Linked DNA regions of Homo sapiens: regions 1, 2 and 3 are each linked to region 4. Evidence: promoter capture Hi-C in 16 types of primary human blood cells and fetal thymus (Javierre and others, 2016). All regions are on one chromosome and are shown on one strand. The core of a region is centred on a gene start or on the middle of the fragment in contact, and the rest is flanking DNA. Distances in the headings are between cores, read along the strand shown.

Region 1 (2,851 bases), core at 262-2,761, 3.5 Mb before region 4:
AAAAAAAAAAATATTCTAGACTCGAACATTCGATACTTGCAGCCGCCACTGAAGTATTCACGGCAAAGATAAAAACAACTTGCAAATGGGAGATGCACATAGTCAGCTTTTCTTTTTCTTCATTTGTTAATATTTTATAATGAATTAGAGGTCAGTCAAAAGTCCCTTTCTATAATAAATCTTAAAGTAGACAAGTAGAATGCAAATGATTTACACTTTCAATGATCAATCATTTCAAGAATCTCTCTACGAACTGAGTAAACCATCTGTGACTCAGGCCTCCCTATCATGTTTTTTAAGCTGACCCACTTCTCCATCACTCACCATGGTTCGAAAAATCTCACTTCTAAGGGTGTAGCAAGAACCGCTCTGTGCCAGCGCATAGTTTGAATCCAATAGGGTAAAAGGGTAATGTAAACAGCACTTTAAAAGGACACCAGTTTTTATTTAAAATGACCCACTGCCTCTAAAAAGAGAGCATCAACACCGGCCTTCACCTGAAGCAATCCTTTTCTCCAACAGAAGAGCAAATCAAGTCTGCAGGGTTCGGGGGCAAAGGGAAAGGATTAAGAAATCCGATCAAGTGTGAAAATGCGTGGTGCATCGAGTTTTGGAGATCAAATACCAGCTTTGCAAACAGGATACGGCCAGGTCAGCGGGAGCCCGGTTCAGGGGATCGGCCCTGCTCTGAAGAGCTCTAGGGACAGGCGAGGCGGTGCAAAGCCCAGTATCCCCAGCAGGGGCCGGGCCCGGGACCCCCTCGGCGCCAGAACTTTGCGCAGTTCGCCGCCTGCGGCCCCGACACCATCGGGGCACCTCCACGCCGCTCCACCCACGTCTTTGCCCATTCTTTTCGGGTGGCGGCTGCGGAGAGGGAGTCTGAAGGGACTTAACAAGGATGGCAGGGAGCAGAGGAGGGCGACCTCCTACCCCAGGCTGCGGCCGCCACAAAGGGAAGGGCGTAGCGCCTCTCCTCGGCGCCCACCGGAGCCACCCGCGGGCGAGGGCAACAGGCGCCTCCTGGGCCAGGCCGCCGGCGGGGATGGGCGAGGCTGGCCGGGGGCGCGCGGCAAGTGACAGTAGCGTCTCCCCGCCCGGGCCCCAGCCTCCCCGCCCACCCCGGGCCTCGCCTCCCCGCGCACTGCACTCTCCCGCGAGCCGCGCGCCCCGGACCTCACCATGGGCTCCGCGCCACGGAGAAGCCATCGCGGGGCGGAGCGGCCGAAGAACCCCCAGTCCTGGGAGCCACCCCCGAACGGGAGACCGTGGCGCGCGCGGTCCCCGCCCTGTCGCGCCCGGTGCGCCAGCGCGCCGCCCCTACCCTTTGGCGTGCTCCGTCTCCTCCTCATTGTCCCCGTCTATCCCGCACGTGTCCTGGTCGTCCAGTTCCAGGCTCTGCTGGCTGGCCGCAGACTCGCTGTCCTCCGCCATCGCGGCGGCGCTGGCTGGGGAGGCGGTGCTCGGGGCCGGGCCGGAGCGGCCGCAGCTCCCTCTAGTGCCTCCCGCCGTACTGCTTGGAGTCGGAGCCCGGGCGCTACGCCCCGCCCCGCCCCGCCCGCGCCCCGTCCCGCCCTCCGTCCCGCCCCCTCCCCGCCCTCCGTCCCGCCCCGCCCTCCATCCCCGCCCCTCACCGTCCGCGCCCAGCCCGCCGGCCCCGCCCTGCCCGCCGGCCCCGCCCTGCCCCACGGGCTTGAACCCCGCCCACCTCTTCGTCCCTCCCCACCAAGCCCCGCCTCTCCCCGTCCCGCCGGCTTCAATCCAGCTCTCTAACCCCGCCCGCCTCTGAGACCCCTCCCCTCCAGCCCCGCCTTTCCCCACCCTGCCGGCTTCAAACCCGCCCTCTAACCCCGCCCACCGCCGCAGCCCCTCCCAGATGGCCCCGCCCCTCCCCGCCCCGCCAGCTCCAACCCTGCTCACCCTGGCCAGCCCTGCACAGGGCCGAGTCCTGTACATCCAGGCCTGCGCGGTGCCTCTGCCTGGGGCTCGGCTCTCAAAGCTGCAAACGTGCAGACTTGACATCCTGAGTGGCGGCATTTTTGGAACACAGGCCATGCGATTTTACTTCTGGACGAATTAGGGAGCGCTCCCAGCCCGTGCAGGGGTTTTTCCCACTCAGGAGTAGGCACTCAGGGATGGGGCTTTCCAGAAACTCTTCCCGCCCCTCCACATACATGTTAACAATTCCATTTCGCATCTATCTATCCATCTAATACATTATAAAATCAAATTCAAAGTCAAAAACAGTATTTCCAGCCCTCCACCGCCCTGTCCCAACCAGGCTTGCAGCACTAAAACTCTTGACAGAAATTTTTGAGCTACCCCTGCTTTCCCTGGACACTACTACGGACGGCTCAGACCAGAACAGACATCTTGAGGGACTTGGGGACGTGTCCACGATGCTGGGGGATTGGACAGTTTCAGGTAGGCTACCCTGGCTTTCCCAAAGTCAAGGTCATGACCTAGATTTCCAAGCAAACGTGCACGGCCTTCTGTGCTGAAATTGTCCGCTGTCTCTCTCAGAAGAGGGAAGGGAGGCATTCTGTAGTACTGCCAAATAGAAGACCGGTGAAGTTCAGCCTCTCTTATTTGCTACTGCATTCTGTACAGAGCAGTCCTGTCCTTTGCTTTGCTGAGATGATCTTGTTCAAATGTGCTGCTAGGCCACCGGAAGTCTCCGCAGTGGTTTTGCAAAGATAATCATCAGAACCCGCTCAGTGAGGAAAATGAGACTTTAAAGAGCCACCTGAATTTTTTGGTGTGGGTCCTTTTTTTGCAGAAGATACTAGGAGCATTTTATGGCTTTTTTCCCCAAGGGAGACTATGTTTTTAAAACGCAATGAGCTAGAAGTAT
Region 2 (3,021 bases), core at 496-2,995, 4.1 Mb after region 4:
AGGCAGTGGCATACTCAAGGAAAACTGCTTATGGACCAATTCATACATCCTACACCACATTCCCGATAGCACCGATCTCATACAAGTGAATCTGCATTATAGAAGCATGTATGTAGCAGCAGCAAAGACTGCACAACGGTGCATTTTCTAAAGCAGATTCAAATCTATAAGGGGACTTTATAAACCCCACTTTCTTTTCTTCTGTCCAGACTGAACACCACCTGAACGCTCCTCCAAAGACACCAGTGCTTGGGAACGTGACATGAGAAATTTTGGATGCATGACCCGAGAAAAGCAAGGCAAACCAGGGCAGCTGCTAGCACACAGGCACCTCTGTGCACATCAGAAAATGAGCCTCCTCTGTGCGGACAACTCACAAAAAGGGTGCCTGTCTCCCGCTAATGCAGCCCCTTGCTATGGTGTGCAGGTGGCAATACTGACGTCAGCCCCCACCTGCCCCTACCACCTGGAGCCTTTGTGCAGGTCATGTAGAATGCTACAGAGGTCATTCTCGGGTTGACTAATACCTAACACCTTCCTCAAAGTCCAGGCTGAAAAAACAAAAGCAAGGCTTATTTATTACAACTACAAATAAACTAAGCTCTGAATGTTAGGGTGTCTAGCAACTTGCAAATATGTTTCTAAGCCTAAATGACCAAGCCTACAGAAACACAAACAAAAGTAATTTAAATAAGAACATGTCCATAAGAATGGAAATGAATAAAACCATAAAATCAGAAGGAGAGAAGTATAGAAGCACCTGAAGAAGGGTTTGGCAGTTCCCTGGAAATGCCACATACCCTTTATGCTTTTCTATGCATTACTCTGCCTGTAACATGTTTTCTCCAGCTTCTCCATCCACCACGCTAATTCAATTCTTGAAGAATTTCAAGAGCCTACCACTAACTCTCCCAGGGCAGTTTATTAATCCTCTTCTGTCTCACAGTATCTGTGTGTACAATCCCAGTTGTGGCAAGAGGGGCAGGGGTATCCCGCCAGAAGCTAACAGCCCCCAAATAACAATAATGTAATGGAGAGTGTGAATGGTAAGAAAATGACCTAGGTGAGTCACTGTCGATTCCTTCCTGTTACCTAACAGTCACCAAATCCAGCTGATTCTACCTGAAATCTCTCTAAGCACATCCTTTGTCTGCTTGTTTACAGCAGTATCTTCAAACCTTTTAGGCTATGGGCCACTTAGACAACACAGCTTCTACCACATCTATACCTGGTTATCCAACAATGTCTGTTACCCCTGCCCAAGCTCAGGTTCCCATCACCTCTGGAAGACAGAAATGGCATTCTTCCTTCTTGCAGTCCCACCTCCTGTCCCACTGACTCCCCTCACAGATCCATCCCTGGAAGGCTGCAGAAGTGCCACCATGCTTTGGCTTCTCACTGTCTCACTTACTGTTGGATTCCCTCTTTTGAAACTTTGAGGTTGATTTGCATTTCTGCTGACAGGGTTATTCAGGTCAGCTCTGCACTGAAAATAAGTAAGCGTCCTGAATAAAATATGTTCTTAAACATCTTCTTGAAGGCATGAAAGAGTTGGAAGAGGGAGGAGAGAAGTCGGCCTGTCAAGATCTTAGTGAAAACTGGAAGCAGGAAGAATAAGTTAGTCATGGAAGCCACTTTGGCTCTAAGGGCTTTGATGGCCTCATGGGTTGACAGGAACAGAAGACAAAGACTAGGGCCCACCCAAGGTGTGAAGTCTAATAGGAAACCTTTTCTCCATAAGGCTACAATGGGTCTACCAAAAATAAAACCATGCCACCCCAGGGACTGCAGCCCAATTTTATATCACCATGAGGTCCAAAAAATTCCAAGCTGTGAATTTAGTTTCAAATGGTCTTGGTCTCCAGTATCCCTAGCCATGTGGCAAAAACAAACAATTCTCTCTGGAAGGATACATCTTTATCTTAAGACTTGAAGAATGTTCCCTGAATGACTATCCAAGGAAGTGAGCAGCTCAGAGCCAAAATGAACCAAACATAAATGGCAACAAGGCACCATGAAGAAGAACCAGCAGAAACAATACACAATAGAAAAAGACCCACAAAGGACTGAGATACTGACATTATCCCTATTCTTACAATGTTTATGCAATCTTAAATTTAACTTATGGTACACTTCTGAATACTACAATTTTTAGAGGCATGTCTGAAGCCATTAAAAGAACAAGTCAGTAATAACACTGCAGCACACTCTTCTAACATAATATCTCAGATTACTTAGAAATGCATTCATAGTCTTCACGCAGTTCACTTGGCGGCCCTTCAACATCTGACACTGTTTGAAAGAAGTTGTTTACTTTCTGAACCTTTTCTGTCGTGTTCACAAGACACAGTTCTTGCATGCTGCTGTAAACATAACCTCTTTCTTTGGCACTGGCTTGCAGTTACCCCATACCTCTTATCACCAATTTGCAGCAAGTTTTTCCCCACTCTCTAACACACTGCACAACCCGCTCAGCAAAATGCTCTAAAATGCTCTATGCTTGATTATAACAAAAGTCAACTTTCTATGTTTATGAAAATTGAATATGGGAGGCCTCATGGTATACCACCTGAGAACTAATGGCCTACGGTTTAGAATCCCAGCCCCACTCATTCATTCAACAATATGTACTGAGCACCTACTATCTAAACACACTGTTCTAGATGCAGGGATACACCTAGTAAATAGGAAAAAGTCTCAGTTGCTATGAAACTTATTGTTCTAGTTGAGGGAGATAAGCAATAAAAATGTACACAACTCAGTTTCAAACAGTGTTAAGTGTCACAGAGAAAATAACAGTATGATAGTGGAGGGGCTCCCTTAGCTTAGGAGGTCAGAGAGGCCATCTGAGAAGGCAACCCCTTAGCTAAGAGACTAAAATAACTAATAGGAGCCAACCATCCAAAGATCTGAGGGCAGGCTGGGCATGGTGGTTCATGCCTCTAATCCCAGCACCTAGGGAGGCTGAGGCAGGAGGATTACTTGAGGCCAAGAGTTGAAGACCAGCCTGGGCAACACAGC
Region 3 (2,724 bases), core at 190-2,689, 3.7 Mb before region 4:
ACTTAGGTTTTAAACAGATTGCATTGACTGTTGTGTTGACAACAGACTACAGAGGGGGCATAGAGAGCTGTTGGGAACGGTTGTAATTACCAGAAAAAAGAAAAATTATGATGGCTTGAGTAGAAGCTATAAAGTCAGCAGGTTGCATTGATGGATATGGAAAGAGAGGGCTCTAGGCCACATCTACTAAAAGACATGAAGAAGGAGCAGGGTTTTTGTTTTTGTTTTGGCAGGGAGGTGTTTGGGGAGGTTGTTTTGTACAATCAAGTGGATGTTGAATATACATTGATATACAAATCTAAAGTTCAGAGAAAGACCGGGCTGAAGAGAGAAATTTGGGAGTTGTAAGTAAATAGTTTTTTGTTTTTAGTTTTACTAAGTATTGCCTTTGTTTTAGTATGACTCGTTTATTTAGAAGTTTATATAATTTAATTTGTGATATGTCTTGTGTTTTTGTTTTGTTTGGGGCAGGTGCCCGAGGCCCTTGTCATCTTCATTGACTCCAGCTCATGGCTTGTATTTAACAACGAGCTCAGAAAAATTCCTAAAAATTTAATTACTGAGTCTCCAGAGCTCTAATGAGCTGGCTCCAGCACACAATTGCTCCTTTCTTTCATTCAACAATTTGACAAGTCCTGATGGCTCTACATTCAAAACATGTAAATTGGCCGGGCGCGGTGGCTCACGCCTGTAATCCCAGCTCTTTGGGAGGCCGAGGCGGGTGGATGACGAGGTCAGGAGATCGAGATCATCCTGGCTAACACGGTGAAACCCCGTCTCTACTAAAAATACAAAAAATTAGCCAGGCGTGGTGGTGGGTGCCTGTAGTCCCAGCTACTCGGGAGGCTGAGGCAGGAGAATGGCGTGAACCCGGGAGGCGGAGCTTGCAGTGAGCCGAGATAGCACCACTGCACTCCAGCCTGGGCGACGGAGCGAGACTCCGTCTAAAAAAAAACAAAAACAAAAAAACAAAAAACCGTATATCTTGAATCTGATCACTTTTCGCTTAGATAGTACTGTAATATAGTAATAGATAATGCTAGAAAAAATAATTAAAGCTATAGATATCATCTATTGTAGGTTTACTGATTGTCAGGCACTATGGCGACTCTCTGGAATGGTTCATTCCTCGCAAATGAATAGATAGGAGATATCTACTATCAGGAACTACAAACACAGTCTCCGTGCTGTGATCCGCTTTCACAGGGAATTTTGTCTGGGATTCAAGTAGCGGCAAGTAACCCTTTTTCGCCCTCCATCTCTGCTCAGGGGTGAGCCCTGGCAGCGCTCCTACCTGGGACCTACATTGGCTTAGTAAGATGGGCCGGCGCCCACCCCAGCCCTCGCGCATGCGCATAAAAGCCCACTCCCGGGGGCGGGGCCTGAGCTAGCTGGGCGGGGCCTGAAGGAGCCGGGAGCTCCTGCAGCTTCATCGCGTTACTAAGAGACGCGAGGGTCGCGAAGGGCACAACACTTGGCCTCTCGCTGGCCCTGCTCGCGGATCCCGAGTAGAGAACGCAAGCACCCACGCCCGCCTGCAAGCTCCCGGGCGCCCCCGGCCTCTCCTGCTCGGCGGAACGAGGATAACCCAGTAGAGCCGGACCCAGGGGTGGGTGGATGCGTCGCTGGAGGCGAGGGCCCTGCCCGCCAACCCCTGCGCCCCGGCCGTAGCCCCACCCCGGAAGTTCTTGCCCCGCCTTCTCGGCTCCGCAGTTCTCTGCTGTCTCCTGAGGTTTGCCAGGGAGATCCCGTGGTTTTCATGTCTCTTCCGTGATTTTTAGGGAAGAGGGTCACTATTTGGCCCTTCCAGAATCTCAGGGTCCGGTTCTCCCGGAAGTTTCCGGGCCGCCCCGGACCCCATTGGCTTTAGGGGCCGCGTCTCCGAGGGCTCCGATTTGGGCCCTAGATTTTGGAATACTGTGTTTTGTCCGTCCCAGCCTTCACCAGGCGGATTTCATCTCCCACACAGTTAGTGATTTATGGCAGAAAGGAAGCTGGAGGGATGGGGACTGCAGGTTAGCTGTGAGGGCCGGAAGGGAGCGGTTTTGTGCTGCACACAGGCAGGTCAGCACTCCCAGAGCAGGGACCGCCGGGCGTGCTTTCGGAACCGCTTTTGTCTTTCAAATGAACGCCCAGCGACAGCAGACGGGAGTTCCAGGACCTTAGAGACCGGCTAATGCTTCTCTTTAAGTTAGGAAACAGGCGCAGGCGTGTTCATGGCCTTGCCTAAGGTTACGTGCTGGTTACAGGGCTCCTCCTGCTGCCTCTTAAGAACAGAAATAATCTAATAGGAGGAATAAAAGGGACTATTAGGGAGGCTAATGCTCTTGAAGTTTTAATACTACTAAAAGTAAAAGCGCTTTTCAGAGTGAAAGGGAAGTGAAAAGGGAATTTGGGTGGCTGGCTACATCAGAAGCTTCTGTTCCAACTTTAGATTGTCAGGGAGTTGAGATGGTGTTTTTTGTTTTTATTTTTGTTTTAGTTTTTTGAGACGGAGTCTCGCTCTGTAGCCCAGGCTGGAGTGCAGTGGCGGGATCTCGGCTCACTGCAAGCTCCGCCTCCCGGGTTCACGCCATTCTCCTGCCTCAGCCTCCCGAGTAGCTGGGACCACAGGTGCCCGCCACGATGCCCGGCTAATTTTTTGTATTTTTAGTAGAGACGGGGTTTCACTTTGTTGGCCAGGATGGTCTCGATCTCCTGACCTCGTGATCCACCCGCCTCGGT
Region 4 (3,021 bases), core at 209-2,708:
GGCACTGCCAATTGCAAACAAAATTAACATTTTTTGAAGACTTACATGCCAAAACAATGCAAGTTGTTTTCATTTACGTTTAATATCCTAAAACAACCTGGTAAAATATTTTTAACTTGACTAAAAAATTAAAGATTTGAAAAAAAACAAAGTTGCTTAGAGGCAGCATGGTAAAATGGAATAGACAACAGGCTTTGCAATCAAAGATAATCAACATTTACTGAGGACTTTAGCAAATAAAATTAACATTTTTTGAGGACTTACATGCCAAAACAATGCTAGTTGTATTCACTTACGTTTAATATCCTAAAACAACCTGGCAAGATATTTTTAACCATTCTCAATTTTTCACAGAAGAGAAAAATCTAGGTTAAGCCACGTAATTTACAAAGCACTAGAATGCAAATCATGTGCCTGAGATTCAAAAGCTGTACCTTTGTTCATTACACCTGAACTCTTTCCCTCCAGATTTCAATAGTTACTTGATAGCTGTGTCAACTTGGATCAGTTACACAATTCCTTGAGCAGTTTTCTGCTCAAGTCTATTAAAAGAGGAAAAACCTCTAAGAAAAAAAAGATTGTGAAGATTAAAGATGCAAATCTCCTAGCACAACTGCTGGCATTTAAGAGGCACTCAACAAATTACAGAAACCTTTTCACCTGAGTGCCAGAGCCAGCGCTCTTTTAAAATTCGATTCGAGTTCTTGAAGACAGGGACCTTTTCTTGTTCATCCTTGTAACCCTTTGTGCCATGCCTGACAGGCACATGCCTTTTTTCCCTTCTTTTCCACTCCTAAATGTTAAAACATATACCTTATTCACTTCGTATCTCAGTAAGCTTTAATACCTGTAGAAACATATTGGTATTTTTACACTTGATAGACAAGTAGTAAGGAACGACGGCTGTCAAGATTTCCCTTTATACTTATTTCTATTTCTCTCGAGTGTGCGAATATTTGAGTTTTTGCAAAATATCAACTAACATCTTTACTTGACCTACCTCCTTATTCATAAAGCCTTCCTTAAGATAGTTTTCAACCTCAGGTCTCAAAGATATCTTAGGGAAAATAGACATTTTTCCTGTTGTTTAGTTCTCCACCAAGAGAAATGCTGGAAAACGGTGTTTTGTTTTTTTTTTTCTTTCCGAATTAATAGTGACGAGTGTCTTGACACCAGATGCTGAGGAAAATCTTGCCGATCACGCTGAGTTAATTTCGGAAATGCAGAGGTACACGCTTTCTCAAGCCTAGCCGATTAGAAGGGGCTGCCGGGCTTCCACCACACCTCATCGAGGCAATGTTTTCTGGTAGAGATGCTCATGGAAATCACTGAGCCAATGCCACTCACGTTGCAAAGAACCAAAAAAAGAAAAAAATGCTTAGTAACTGAATCCGTGGTGAAACGGACGCAGATCAGTAAGCCAGGCTGACAGCAGCTCGGTCCCTTTATCTTTTCTATCAATTTCCAAACACGCGCCCCCTATTTCTCGGCGGAAAGTCGCTTCCGGCTTACGTCACGTCCGGCGCCTGCGGCCCACCCCTCCCTTTCCGGTCCCCCAATCCACAGCCGCAAGTTTCCCCAACACTGCGTTACGCTACGCCACGCCCCCGGAGGTTCCTAACCCTGCGTGAGGCTCTTTCACCTGCCTCAGGTTAAGTAGGCAGACCCCGCGGGCGGGATGGTCAAAGATATTTAGTTCCCGGTACCGGAGGGCTAGGTGCCAGGGGCAATGGGGAAACAGCCAAATGGCGTGGGTTGAGTGGAAGATGTTGCTGGACTGAAAAAAGGCACAGCCCAGTTGCTGTCCTGCCAGATGTCCTCCAGTTAGAGGATGAGGCCAGAATTTGGGCGCATCAGCCACCGTTTGATTTCATGACATGATTTTACCTCTCTCAGGCATACAGATCTGACTTCAGTTGTGAAGTTCATAGGGTTCATATTTTTGAAAGTTGGGCTAATGGTCTGTTAATATCCAATGCTCAGGTAAAACTTAAAACCCACAGACAGTGTTTACAGTTAGTTATAAGGCTAACTGCTACTTGTATCATAGTTGACATATTCTTTAGAGTTTGGAAGACCCTCGCCATTATTTTTTTTTCTTTTTTTTCATCATAAGCAGACAAGGATATAGATTCAAAGAACGAGGATATCTAACCAAACTCACTGAGTCATTTTATAACTGTACAGGAAAGTCAAAATAATTCTATCACCTTGACATATGTTTTTTGCAGCACACCATGGTAATTTACACATAAGTATAGGAAAGGGTTTTTTATTGTTTTTTTCTCTTTAATTTTCACACCGAATTATACACACAGACACACACACATAGAACAGGTACTTTCCATGACACACCAACTCTTTACCAGAAAGAGTAGAAAATAATGAATGACCATTATACCACACAACAACCTGCAAGTTGTTTATCATTTTCTCTGCTCTTTTTTTTTTTTTTTTTTTGAGTCTCTGTCGCCCAGACTGGAGTGGAATGGTGGGATCTCGACTCACTGCAACCTCCACCTCCTGGTTCAAGAGATTCTCCTGCCTTGGCCTCCCGAGTAGCTAAAATTACAGGCATGTGCCACCAGGCCCAGCTAATCTTTGTAATTTTAATAGAGACGGGGTTTCACCATGCTGGCCAGGCTGGTCTCAAACTCCTGACTTCAACTGATCTGACTCTCTAGCCTCCCAAAGTGCTGGGATTACAGGCGTGAGCCACCACGCCCAGCCCATTTTCTCTGTTTTAAAGAGTAAATCAAGGTTCCTAGGGTTGAAACAACTCTCCATGTTCTCACAAATAAAAAGCCAGGATAAAGACTAGTAATTTGGCTTCTAGAGCCAATACCTTGTCCTTGACCATAGCATATTTCTTCAATAAATCCATGAGATTCTTTCATGGCTAAAACATCTGAAAGTGATAAATGTCTAAATCAGACATTTCCAAAGGAATTTCTGTAGCCTGAATTTCATGGTGACCATAGCACCACTGATGGCTAGAATCTGTATTTTAGCGATAAAGGA

What was found. The method cuts DNA at HindIII sites, captures the fragments that hold promoters and counts their contacts. A CHiCAGO score of 5 or more calls a contact.
Region 1: the fragment with the promoter of NMT2 here is called in contact with the fragment with the promoter of NSUN6 in region 4 in 1 of 17 cell types (naive CD8 T cells); the score reaches 6.1 in naive CD8 T cells.
Region 2: a contact is called between a fragment that was not itself captured here and the fragment with the promoter of NSUN6 in region 4, in 1 of 17 cell types (monocytes). The highest score is 7.8, in monocytes.
Region 3: the fragment with the promoter of MEIG1 here is called in contact with the fragment with the promoter of NSUN6 in region 4 in 1 of 17 cell types (naive CD8 T cells); the score reaches 6.8 in naive CD8 T cells.

The regions. Positions count from the first base shown.
Region 1 is chr10:15,167,182-15,170,032 of GRCh38, forward strand. It overlaps NMT2 (N-myristoyltransferase 2), which reads right to left and starts at 1,512. Exons shown (of 12, transcript NM_004808.3): 1 at 1,322-1,512. The coding sequence starts at 1,431. RefSeq lists a silencer at 882-1,711. The HindIII fragment of the contact is 10,106 bases long and covers 1-2,851 here.
Region 2 is chr10:22,700,206-22,703,226 of GRCh38, forward strand. The region is part of intron 1 of PIP4K2A (phosphatidylinositol-5-phosphate 4-kinase type 2 alpha); the gene reads right to left. Among named protein-coding and RNA genes, the nearest start is that of PIP4K2A, 13 kb to the right of the region's middle. RefSeq lists an enhancer at 292-351. The HindIII fragment of the contact is 3,898 bases long and covers 1-3,021 here.
Region 3 is chr10:14,957,949-14,960,672 of GRCh38, forward strand. It overlaps MEIG1 (meiosis/spermiogenesis associated 1), which reads left to right and starts at 1,440. Exons shown (of 3, transcript NM_001080836.3): 1 at 1,440-1,609. RefSeq lists a silencer at 1,663-1,712. The HindIII fragment of the contact is 3,683 bases long and covers 1-2,414 here.
Region 4 is chr10:18,650,129-18,653,149 of GRCh38, forward strand. It overlaps NSUN6 (NOP2/Sun RNA methyltransferase 6), which reads right to left and starts at 1,459. Exons shown (of 11, transcript NM_182543.5): 1 at 1,001-1,459. The coding sequence starts at 1,075. RefSeq lists an enhancer at 1,599-1,698. The HindIII fragment of the contact is 3,002 bases long and covers 837-3,021 here.